Linked DNA regions of Homo sapiens: all the other regions are linked to region 2. The links are contacts of gene promoters, found by promoter capture Hi-C in blood cells and fetal thymus (Javierre and others, 2016). All regions are on one chromosome and are shown on one strand. The core of a region is centred on a gene start or on the middle of the fragment in contact, and the rest is flanking DNA. Distances in the headings are between cores, read along the strand shown.

Region 1 (4,679 bases), core at 438-2,937, 65 kb after region 2:
CCAGAGGGAAGCCAGGACTTTTCTTGAGATGTGACCACAGTTCTAGGGTACACTGACAATACAGGTCATCTAATTTAGAAAGTGCATTCGGCCAACATACAGTGGAGAGTAAAAGTCTATTCAAAAATAAACCTCTTTTTCTTTCTTTTTCTTTCTTTTTTTTTTTTTTTTTTTGAGACAGGGTCTCACTGTGTCACCAAGGCTGGAGTGCAGTGGTACAATCTCGGCTCACTGCAACCTCTACCTCCTGGGCTCAAGTGACCCTCCTACCTCAGCCTGCCAAACAACTGGGACCACAGGCATGCACCACCACATGTGGCTAATTTTTTCTTATTTTTTGTAAAGACGGGGTTTCACTATGTTGCCCAGGATTGTCTCGAACTCCTGGACTAAAGAGATCCACCCACCTCGGCTTCCCAAAGTGCTGTGATTACAGGCATGAGCTACCAAACTGAGACAACCCTATTTTTTTTTTATCTCCCAGAAGTGAAGATGTGAATTTCCCAGGACCCAAAAACATAAATATAACAGTGGTAGCCATGGAGGGTGGCACCAAACGAGGAAAAGGTCAAAAAGCATTATTCCACAGATTCTTATTCCTTCAGAGCAGACCCAAATCATCCTCTTCTAGGAAAGGACTGCCTTCCAAAAATCAAACCTCTCCTCCCTATGTGCTTTCCTGTTCTCCTTTCAAATGGGAGACAGCTTTCTAATGCGCCCAAGCTGCTACAAAAAGCTCCCAATGAACTTTGAGCCCTTTAATGAAGAGAGGAATAATATTAATTTATTCATGCTCCTGACTTTTTTTTTTAAATCTTATTCTGCATTATAAAATATTTTGCCTGTATGTGTGCTAGTGGTGGAAATGGTGGTGGCTGTGGCAGTGGTTCACCTTTGGAGAAAAAGCTTTCATTAGTGTTAGTTCATCTGCCTACATTAAAAATTAACCTAAAATTTCTGCTACTATTTCTATGTCTTCTCTCAACTTTTTTCCTTTAATAATTTACACCCAAATGTTGTTTATGTTTACAATACTGAAATGGGTATCTTAAGTGTTAATGTTGTCTTTTGTCTGAAACAGTGATCTTGGTAGCAGAAAAAAATTATAAAGTGCATTTATTTTGTAATTCATAAGGTGCTTCATATAGAAATTCATTGCTTTCAAAGCCAATTGTTTGCTAGATGTTAGTCTGTGGCCACTTAATTAAGTTAAAAGAATGGGCTGGCTAGGCATGGCATGGTGGCTTACACCAGTCATCCCAGTGCTTTGGAAGGCCCAAGCAGGAAGATCGCTTGAGCCCAGGAGTTCAAGACCAGCCTGGGCAACATAGTAAGACGCCCATCTCTACAAAAAGTTTAAAAATCAGCCAGATGTATTGGCACATACCTATATTCCTAGCTACTTGGGAGGCTGAGGAGGTAGGATCACTTGAACCTAGGAGTTCTAGGCTGCTGTGAGCTATGATTGTGCCACTGCAATGCAGCCTGGGTGACAGAGTGACAGAATGAGACACTGACATGCTATCTATCTATCTATCTATCTATCTATCTATCTATCTATCTGGGGCTGAGGGGAAGTCAGATCAAATAACTAGTAATGAAACCATAGAGTTAAACAGTCACAGATCTTCATAATCAGAAGTTCAATTTCGTGAGACTTAGGCAATCACAAGACTATCTGTAAGAATTAATATGGTCATGTCTTTCATGTCTTGCTTAACAACGGGAATACATTCTGAGAAATGAGTCAGGTGATTTTATCATTGTGCAAACACTGGAGAGTGTACCTACACAAACCTAGATGGTAGAACCTACTACACACTTGGCACCTAGGCTCTATGGCAGAGGTCCCCAACTTTTTTGGCACCAGGGATTGCTTTCATGAGAGACAATTTTTCCATGGCTGGGGGTAGAAGGGATGGTTTCCAGATGAAACTGTTCCACCTCAGATCATCAAGCATTAGACTCTCAGAAAGAATGTACAGCTTAGATCCCTCACATGCACAGTTCACAATAGAGTTCAGGCTCCTATGAGAATCTAATGCCACCACTGATCTGACAGGAGGTGGAGCTCAGGCTGTAATGCTCACTCGCCCACCACTCACTTCCTGCTGTGCAGCCCGGTTCCTAATGAGCCACGGACCTATGGTGGACCATGGCCCAGGGGTGGGGGACCCCTGCTCTATGGTCTAGTCTATTGCTCTTAGGCTGCAAACCTCTACAGCATATTACTGTACTGAATACTACAAACGACTGTAACATAATGGTAAGTATTTGTATATCTAAATATACCTAAACATGGAAAGGTACAGCAAAATTTTGGCATAATCTTAAAGGACTACTGTCATTATATGTGGTCCATTGCTGACTAAAATGTTGTTATGCAGATCCTAAATTTTAAAAATAACAAAATATGTCCAATCTTCTGCAATGAAAGGTTTAAAGATTTATTGTCCAATAAAGCTTTCACTGATGATGGGGATGATTCTATGTCTCTGCTATCCAATACAGTAGCCACCAGCCATTGGTAACTATTGAGCACTTGAAATGTGGCTAGTATGACTGAGTTTAACTTTTAATTTTATTTAATCAATTTCAATTTTACTTTTAAATGGAAACAGTGTAAAATGTTTTCCCATTAAACACAACTTGATTGTTCTAGTAGGACTCCATTTAGTTTTAATTGTTTAAAATTTAGCTACTGAATTAAGATGTGTGAAAAATACACACTGGATTTGGCCGGGTGCAGTGGCTCACACCTGTAATCCCAGGACTTTGGGAAGTTGAGGCAGGTGGATTACCGGAGGTCAAGAATTCAAGACCAGCCTGGGGAACATGATGAAACCCCATCTCTACTAAAAAATATAAACATTAGCCAGGCATGGTGGCAGGCGCCTGTAGTCCCAGCTACTTGGCAGCCTGAGGCAGGAGAATCGTTTGAACCTGGGAGGCGAAGGTTGCAGTGAGCTCAGATCATACCACTGCACTCCAGCCTGGGAAACACAGCAAGACTCCAACTCAAAAAAAAAAAAAAAAAAAAGGAAAAAGCAAAATAAACACTGGATTTGGAGGTTTGAAGGACTCAGTACTAAGAAAGTAAGTATACATCCTTAATAATTTTTCACAATGGTTACATGGTGAAATTATATTTTTGTGGGTTTTTTGTTTTTGTGGTTTTTTTTTTTTTTTTGAGACATAGTATTGCTCTGTGCCCCAGGCTGGAGGGCAATGGCATGATCTCGACTCACTGCAACTTCCACCTCCCCATTCAAGCAACTCTCCTGCCCCAGCCTCCCAAGTAGCTGGGATTACAGGTGCCCGCCACCATGCCTGGCTAATTTTTGTATTTTTAATAGAGACAGGGTTTCACCATGTTGGCCAGGCTGGTCTTGAACTCCTGACGTCAAGTGATCCATCCGCCTTGGCCTCCCAAAGTGCTAGGATTACTGGCGTGGGCCACCGCTCCCAGCTGAAATGGCATTTTTTATATATTGGGTAAAAAATATATATATTATTGGCCAGGTCTGGTGGCTCATGCCTATAATCCCAGCACTTTGGGAGGCCGAGGAGGGCAGATTACTTAAGGTCAGGAGTTCGAGATCAGCCTGGCCAACATGGTGAAACGCCGTCTCTACTAAAAATACAAAAATGAGCCAGCTGTGGTGGCGCATGCCTGTAATCCCAGCTACTCGGGAGGCAGAGACGGGAATGGCTTGAACCCAGGAGGTGGAGGTTGCAGTGAGCCAAGATTGCACCACTGCACCCCAGCCTGGGAGACACAGCAAGACTCCGTCTCAAAAAAAAAAAAAAAAAAAAAAAAAAAAAAAAAAATATATATATATATATATATATATATATATATATATACATATATATATATATATACACATAAAATTCAGAATAATTTCTTATATCTATTCATTTTATACGTAGCTACTAGAAAATTTTTAATTATATATCTGGCTTGCATTTTTGGCTCATATTATATATCTACTGGACAGTGCTGATTTAGAGTCTAAACAGCATTTCCATCTGAGGAGAGATCTGCAAACGTCTAAGGCTCTAAGACTGACATTATTTCTGATACAAAGATGATAGGTTATAAATATTATCATAAAATCCTAAAAAGTTATCCAAAAGTGCTTTAACAGGTTATTCAATCTTCCCAGGGTAGAAGACAGCATAGATTGTTATTAGCTAGTAAAAATGTTCAAATAATGGGCTTTCATTCATTTCCTCAAAGTCATTTTATAGACCTCAATTTATACTTTTCAGCTTTTTCTTAACTTCCAAGATTAATCTTATTTTGTACTCTGTTAAATTCACTGTAGATTAAGACAATGAGGCTGAGTCAATGTGTGTGTGTGTGAGAGAGACAGAATGTGTGTGTGTGTGTGTGTGTGTGTGTACTTCTGGTGTTGTTTTAATAAATTGATTGATATTATTATTGCACACAGTGAGACAGAAAGAAGGAAACGGACGTGCATGAGCACATGTATTCCTCCAAAGAAGTAACTGTAGAAAAGATTTTACCTACATGACTGATTTCGGGTCTACTAAAAAGAAGCAAAATGATAGTTCGTTCATTTTTGTATGTCTAATAAAGATGGTATTTGCATGCTATTTTCTTACTGTTCAAATAACTCCCAGATTTTTCACATCATGATGATGATTTGTAA
Region 2 (2,534 bases), core at 1-2,500:
CGTAAGCCACCGTGCCTGGCCTATAATGTTTTTAAAGATTATAAAGATTGAATGTCCCTTATCCAAAATGCTTGGGACCAGAAGTGTTTTGGATTTATTTTTTAAATTTTGGAGTATTTACATTATATCAGTTCATCATCCCTAATTTGAAAATCTGAAATCCAAAACCCTCCAGTTAGCATTTCCTTGGAGCATCATGACTGCACTAAAAAAGTTTTGGATTTCAGATTTTCAGATTAGGGATACTGAACCTGTACAAGATTCTTTCACATGTCAGATATAAGCCATCAGTTGATCACTGACAAGTAAATAGATGGTAATATTTAAGTTCCCAGGTTTTTATTTACAGATTTTATAATGTAGGAAAACTACAGAATGACCTTTTGGTCATTCACTTTTTTAGTTTGAATTCTAAAGTTCTTGAAATTCAAATTTCCACAAAGTAAAACTACTTTTCTCATTTATTTTTTAAATTCTCAGATCAGATACCTACTATTCCTCAAGACACACTGGGAGTTGATTTTGATTCAGGTGAAGCTAAGTCTACTGATAATGTCTTACCTAGAACTGTATCTGTTCGTAGCAGTTTAAAGAAACATTGTAACAGTATATGTCAGTTTGATAGCTTGGATGATTTTGAAACCAGTCATTTGGCAGGGAAGTCTTTTGAATTCGAAAGAGTTGGATTTTTAGACCCACTAGTAAACATGCACATACCTGAAAATGTACAACACAATGCTTGTCAATGGAGCAAGGACCAAGTTAACTTATCACCAAAGCTGATTCAGCCAGGAACGTTTACTAAAACAAAAGAAGACATTTTAGAATCTAAATCTGAACAAACTAAAAGTAAGCAAAGAGATACACAAGAAAGAAAAAGAGAAGAGAAAAGAAAAGCTAACAGGAGAAAATCAAAACGTATGTCAAAATATAAAGAGAATAAAAGCGAAAATAAAAAAACTGTTCCCCAAAAAAAAATGCACAAATCTGTCAGTTCCAATGATGCTTACAATTTTAATTTGGAAGAGGGTGTTCATCTTACTCCTTTCCGACAAAAAGTGAGCAATGACTCTAATAGAGAAGAAAACAACGAGTCTGAAGTGAGCCTCTGTGAATCAAGTGGTTCAGGAGATGATTCCGATGACCTCTATTTGCCCACTTGCAAGTACATTCAGAATCCCACGAGCAATTCAGATAGACCAGTCACCAGGCCTCTAGCTAAAAGAGCACTGAAATACACAGATGAAAAAGAGACGGAGGGTTCTAAGCCAACAAAAACTCCTACCAGTAAGTGATCTACTTGTTTACCTGTATTTTTAATGTTCGTGATAAATGATCACTCCTGATGCTTATATACTATACTTACCATCTGTTTCTCTGGTGGAGGTTGGAGACTTACCATCTGTCTCTCTTTGGTGGAAGTTATGGTCTGATTAAACAGTGGGGGGCTGGGTGTGGAAATCACAGTTGTATTGCTCTGACCTAATTCAGAGATTGCTTGTTATGGAGACAGAATTTTTATTTTCAGTAAATTAGGACTCCCAAGGGGACAGAGGGACTTTTTTGTAGACTTAGGTTGAATTGAAGTAGCTTTTATACACTTAACTGAAGTATCCCCTTGAAAGTGAAATCAAATTTGAATCCAGTGACTTGTTATTTTAATGGCCTTGTTTTATATTAAATTTGACAGGAACCGTGATTTAAAATAATCTTCTAGTTAGTGAAGATTTCCTCAATTGATAGGCTTAGTATTCTTTTGTACGACATCTCTAAAAACTGGCTCAGAAAATATTTTATTAGATCAAAAGTAGGCATAGTTCAAATGTTCGTAATACAACCTACACCTGTCCACAAAGATTCTCATTTGGCAATTTTAGTTAATACAAGTAAAACTAACATTTATAGTCAAGTTGTATCATTTTCAAAATATTGTCACATCATTTTATTTGATCCTCAGAACAATTCTGTGAAGTATAGGTGTTATGATGCTTATTTTGTTTGTAAGGAGATTAAAACCTTAAAAACCAAACCAACTTTCTAAATCGGCCAGTTAGTCAGTGGTAGCAGGCAAGTATCTTTTTTAAAAATATGCTGTAAGCCGGGCGGGTTGGCTCACGCCTGTAATCCCAGCACTTTGGGAGGCTGAGGTGGGCGGATCACCTGAGGTCAGGAGTCCAAGACCAGCCTGGCCAACATGGTGAAACCCCATCTCTACTAAAAATACAAAAAAATGAGCCAGGCCTGGTGGTATGTGCCGGTAATCCCAGCTACTCGGGAGGCTGAGGCAGGAGAAAAAGAATTGCTTGTACCCAGGAAACAGAGGTTGCAGTGAGCCGAGACCATGCCATTGCGCTCCAGCCTAGGCAACAAGAGCGAAACTCAGTCTCAAAAAAAAAAAAAGCAAAAATGCTATAATGATGTTAGAATAAATCAAACATGATTGTCAAAGTGTTGATAATTATTGGACCTGGGTAACTCAGAGTTTATTATACTGTTATTGCCATCTTTGTGTACATTTAAAAATGTCCAGAAAA
Region 3 (4,564 bases), core at 433-2,932, 92 kb after region 2:
ATCACGGAAAATGACTCAAAGACTGAACTCCTCATGGCCCTCCTCAAAATGGCAGCTACCTCTTGCTGGCCCTGTTTCTGCCAACAAGCCCATCATTCATTCCTTTAGTGTCCTTTACCTTCCACACATTACCAGCCACCAGACTCCACTGAGCTTCCTCATTCTCTCTCAGAGACACTGCATTTCCCCATCCTACCTTTCTTCCATTGGAATGTCAAACCTACTATAATAAAATAGCCCCCTAGACTGTTCTCTCTGCTGCCAGGGTAGTCTTCCTAAAATACCACTTTCCTTAAACAACCCCATCTCTACCAGATCCAGAGACTACTCCTGGCTCTTTGGGGATGCTGACCAGAATTAGACTTGTTTAACTTATCTCTAGATTTACCAGTCTCCTAATTAATCCCAACCCATGTCAACACCCAGGTGAACCTCACTCTAACTGCAAAGCTAAACTATTTACTATACTGACAATCAATTCATATTAAACCAAAAAGAGTCATTCATTATTAAAAGAAACCCTTCTCTTAACCTTTTATTAAGAAGACTTTTTGATGCAAATAGGCTCCCTTCAATTATCTAAAAGTATGTTTTCTTAAAGAGATAGGCCTCTATTATTTATGAGTCTAGGAGCATATTATTAAAAACTAAAAAATAAAATAAAAATCTATAAACTACAATGCACAAATCTATAGCAGTCAACCTGCCACAAAACTCAAGATATGAAGTCGCTGCTATGTAAAACTTTGATGTATCGCTCCCTAATTTAACCTCCCTCATCAAGATGTGCATCAATGTACACTGTATCAGTAGTGAGAGACTATTCCTTTTTCCTGTGCTCTGCCTACAGTGGAGAACCATCCTCGGTAATTTAACCAATCTTTTGAAAATTAATAAGCACCCCCTACTGTTTTGATCTGCATTCAACGGAAGGCCCAGGGAGTTGTTTGTTTTTCATACTACTGGCTGTTTGTATTTGATCTCCTGTGTACCTGCCAATTTGAGTTCCTTTGCTTGGTTTTTAAGATGTTAGTCTTTTTCTTACCACCTTGAATAAACCTTATGTACTACCTTTAGTCTGCCATACTCATTGCAAATGCTTACGTATTTGGTGGGGAGGGATTTTTGGTTTATTTGGTTTGGTTGTAGAAAAATGTTAATCTTTTTAGAAAGCCATATCTACGTTGGCAGTTCTTTAAGGTTTTGCTTGCAAAGGTTTTTCCTACATAAACAAAAAATAACAAAAAATGTATTTTTCCTAGCTCTTTAAAGAGTTTGTTTTTAAAATTTAAAACATTCCTCCATCAAAATGTCAATGTTATAAAAGTCAACAAATAAAATAAAATGCTGAGGAACTCCAGATTAAAGAAAACTAAAGAGACATGACAACTAAACAGATATGTGATTCTTGAGTGGAGGCTTAATGGAAAGGAAAATATGTTATAAAGAACATTTTTGGGTCAACAGATAAAATTAGAATACAAACAGTAGATTAGATAAAGGTATTATATTAATGTTAAATTTACTAAAGTTGGTAATTGAACTGAGGTTATTAAGAGAAAACCGTGGCCGGGTGCAGTGGCTCAAGCCTGTAATCCCAACACTCTGGGAGGCTGAGGAGGGCGGATCATTTGAGGTCAGTAGTTCGAGACCAGCCTGGCCAACATGATGAAACCCCATCTCTACTAAAAATAAAAAAATTAGCTGGGCATGGTGGCAGGCATCTGTAATCCCAGCTACTTGGGAGGCTGAGGCATGAGAATCATTTGAACCCAGGAGGTGGAGGCTGCAGTAAGCCAAGACTGCACCATTGCACTCCAGCCTGAGCAACAGAGTGGGTCTCCATTTCAAAAAAAGAAAACCTTATTATTAGGAACTGTATATTGAAATATTTAGGGGAGGAAGGGCTATGATATATAAGTAACTTATTCTCATATAGTTCCAGAAAAACAAATTTATACGTAGAGACTCATATATATATATATATGAGACTCTCTATATACATTTATACATATATATATATGAGCCAATGACAGCAAATAAAATAAAATGTTACTAATAGGTAAATCTAGGGAAAGGATTTATGGGATATTCTTCGTTATTATTCTCATGACTTTTATGTAAATTTTTAATTATTTGCAAATTAAAAGTGTTTTTACAATCTTTCCTCCACCTGAATTTGATCATTAAAGAATCCTGCTTTTACTTTAAATAGTCTTCCAAGAGCCTGATACAAAGCATTGATATACACTAATTACCCAAGATTGACCAACCCTTGAGCTGTGGCAAAGTTTATTCCTTTTGGTGGGCCACAGTTCCCCCAGTGTCCACTTTGTGTGAAGGGCACAAGAAAGCAGACAGAAGGTGCAAGTGAGGGGACGAGGGGAGGCTTTGCCTTCTTTAGATCACTCCAGAAGGGTATACCTTGGCACCTCTCAGTGCTGTGTCAGACTTGCAAACACCCAGGGTGCCAGAGAGTGACCCGCCGTGTGACTGCTGCCAAGAATCACGGTGCAGCTGTCAACCTTGCTGAGAACAGGAAGCACACTGTCACTGTGTGCCGTGACCCTCACTAACCTCTGGCTCCGTGTATCATTGGCCTGCACTTCTCGTGAAGACAGTCAGCCAGTCCTCACATGCCCTGCAGTGTGAACAGGCAGCAGCTGGGCAGGCAGCTAACATGTCCCTGCTCCTCTGGACCAGAAGCAAATAACACAATAGGATTTGAAGGCTGCTCAAATACATTTTTTGTTCATGGGAATTTGGCATCGAGGCTAGAAGAGGTAAAATTAATGACTACAATGAAATCTGTCAAATTGACTAATGTGCAAAAGGCTTATCATTTAAAAGTGGTTTCATTTTCTGTAATCTCAGATCTGGAATGAAAAAAAAGAGAAGCCTAAGAGTAAGAGCCCATTAGATGAGAGCAGTCCAGTAGAAATATAATGCAAGCCACATATGTAAATTTAAGTATTCCAGTAGCTGTGTTTAAAAAGACAAAAGAAGCAGGTGAAATTCATTAAATAATATATTTTATTTAACCTAATATATACCAAAGTATTATTCTTTCAATACGTATGCAATATTAAAAGTTACTATTTACATTCCTCTTCTTGTACTAAGTCTTCAAAACCTGTGTGCATTTCACGCTTACAGCACAATTCAAACTAGTGAAATTGCAAGTGTTCAATAGCCACACATGGCTAGTGGCTACTGTGTTGGACACAGCAGGTATAGATTATAAACTTTGAAAGCTCCTCTGCAAATATATGCAACCAGCCCTCATTTTACCATTATTGAATTCAATGACTATTTACCAACAAAAGAATAAGCACAATTATGCACAACGAACTAAATATATTACAAACTAGAGAAAAAGTCAACTCTTAATCACAGTTCAGTACAGATTGGTATATAATTATAGTTATATAAGAAGGAACATTGCCACAGAGCTCTAAGAAGGCCTTTATTCTCTCTACAGAGTTCTGCAGTCAAGCCTTGGAGGATAAGCAGAATTCCCTGGCAGAAAATGAAGGAAAGGCATTGAAGGTGGTGTGAGCTTCCAGATCTAAGGCAGAGGTGGGAGAAAGTTCAAAGAACCTTTGGAGAACATGGAGCAGCCTGATGGCCAAAATGCAATGAAGATAATTGGAGAAAAGCTTTGAAAATAAAGAGGCCTCAATGAACTGAACCTGCTTGCTCAACTACAGATCACCCTTCACTCTGAGGATAATGAGAAGCTCAGAGGGGTTAAGCAGGAGAATGGGATCACATTGTATCATCACTTTATGGGAAAGCCAGGTATGCAGGAATGGAAATAAGAACTCCAGAAGCTGCAGCAGACACAGGCAAGGAATAATGAGGAAAAGCCTAAATTCAGCCAGTGCTAGAGGCAGGAACTTGAAGGGAGTATCAAACAGGATTTCATGACCAGAGGACGTCAGGGAGACATAACTTATACCAAATGAGCAGAGAAAATATTACCAGTATTATCCCCTTAACTCCTGCTGTGCCCGACCCACAGCTCCTGAAAACTCTGAAACCGGCATCTGAAAGGCTGCATTAGCCAGCAGTGGACATCCAGCCAAGAGGAATATGCTGGCTCAATTCAGGAGGCTGTGTCATTGTGCTAGCTGGGCCCCATGTTTACGTCCTTTGGCATCTGCACAGTACATGTATAAATGGGAACTGAGGGGGCAATTATATGGTACAAGTCTATGCAAATGTCGTATGATCAAAGAAAATGTGTTGAGTCAAATGATCTGCCTAAATGATTTAAATACTTGAAATATCCATGAGAAAAATACTGGTATTTTCTTCATAATACTCAAGAAGTAAGCTCTAGTGTGATTGTTAAAGCTAACTCTTGACCTTCCTTAAAAATCTCTGGGAGTCTCAGGCCAGAAGCGGTGGCTCACGCCTGTAATCCCAGCATTTGGGGAGGCTGAAGCGGGCAGATTACCTGAGGTCAGGAGTTTGAGACCAGCTTGGTCAACATGATAAAACCCGTCTCTACTAAAAACACAAAAATTAGCCGGGCATGGTGGTGGGTGCCTGTAATCCC

What was found. Contacts are between HindIII fragments. The CHiCAGO score rates a contact against its expected background, and 5 or more counts as called.
Region 1: a fragment that was not itself captured here is called in contact with the fragment with the promoter of SGO1-AS1 in region 2 in 1 of 17 cell types (total CD4 T cells); the score reaches 5.2 in total CD4 T cells.
Region 3: a contact is called between a fragment that was not itself captured here and the fragment with the promoter of SGO1-AS1 in region 2, in 1 of 17 cell types (neutrophils). The highest score is 5.3, in neutrophils.

The regions. Positions count from the first base shown.
Region 1 is chr3:20,106,168-20,110,846 of GRCh38, reverse strand. All of the region lies in intron 5 of KAT2B (lysine acetyltransferase 2B), which reads right to left. Among named protein-coding and RNA genes, the nearest start is that of MIR3135A, 29 kb to the left of the region's middle. The HindIII fragment of the contact is 1,557 bases long and covers 909-2,465 here.
Region 2 is chr3:20,173,002-20,175,535 of GRCh38, reverse strand. SGO1-AS1 (SGO1 antisense RNA 1) reads right to left here and starts at 1,250. Exons shown (of 4, transcript NR_132785.1): 1 at 1,011-1,250; 2 at 718-801. SGO1 (shugoshin 1) reads left to right here. Exons shown (of 8, transcript NM_001199251.3): 6 at 481-1,287. The HindIII fragment of the contact is 5,926 bases long and covers 1-2,534 here.
Region 3 is chr3:20,079,338-20,083,901 of GRCh38, reverse strand. The region is part of intron 2 of KAT2B (lysine acetyltransferase 2B); the gene reads right to left. Among named protein-coding and RNA genes, the nearest start is that of KAT2B, 41 kb to the right of the region's middle. The HindIII fragment of the contact is 3,959 bases long and covers 1-3,661 here.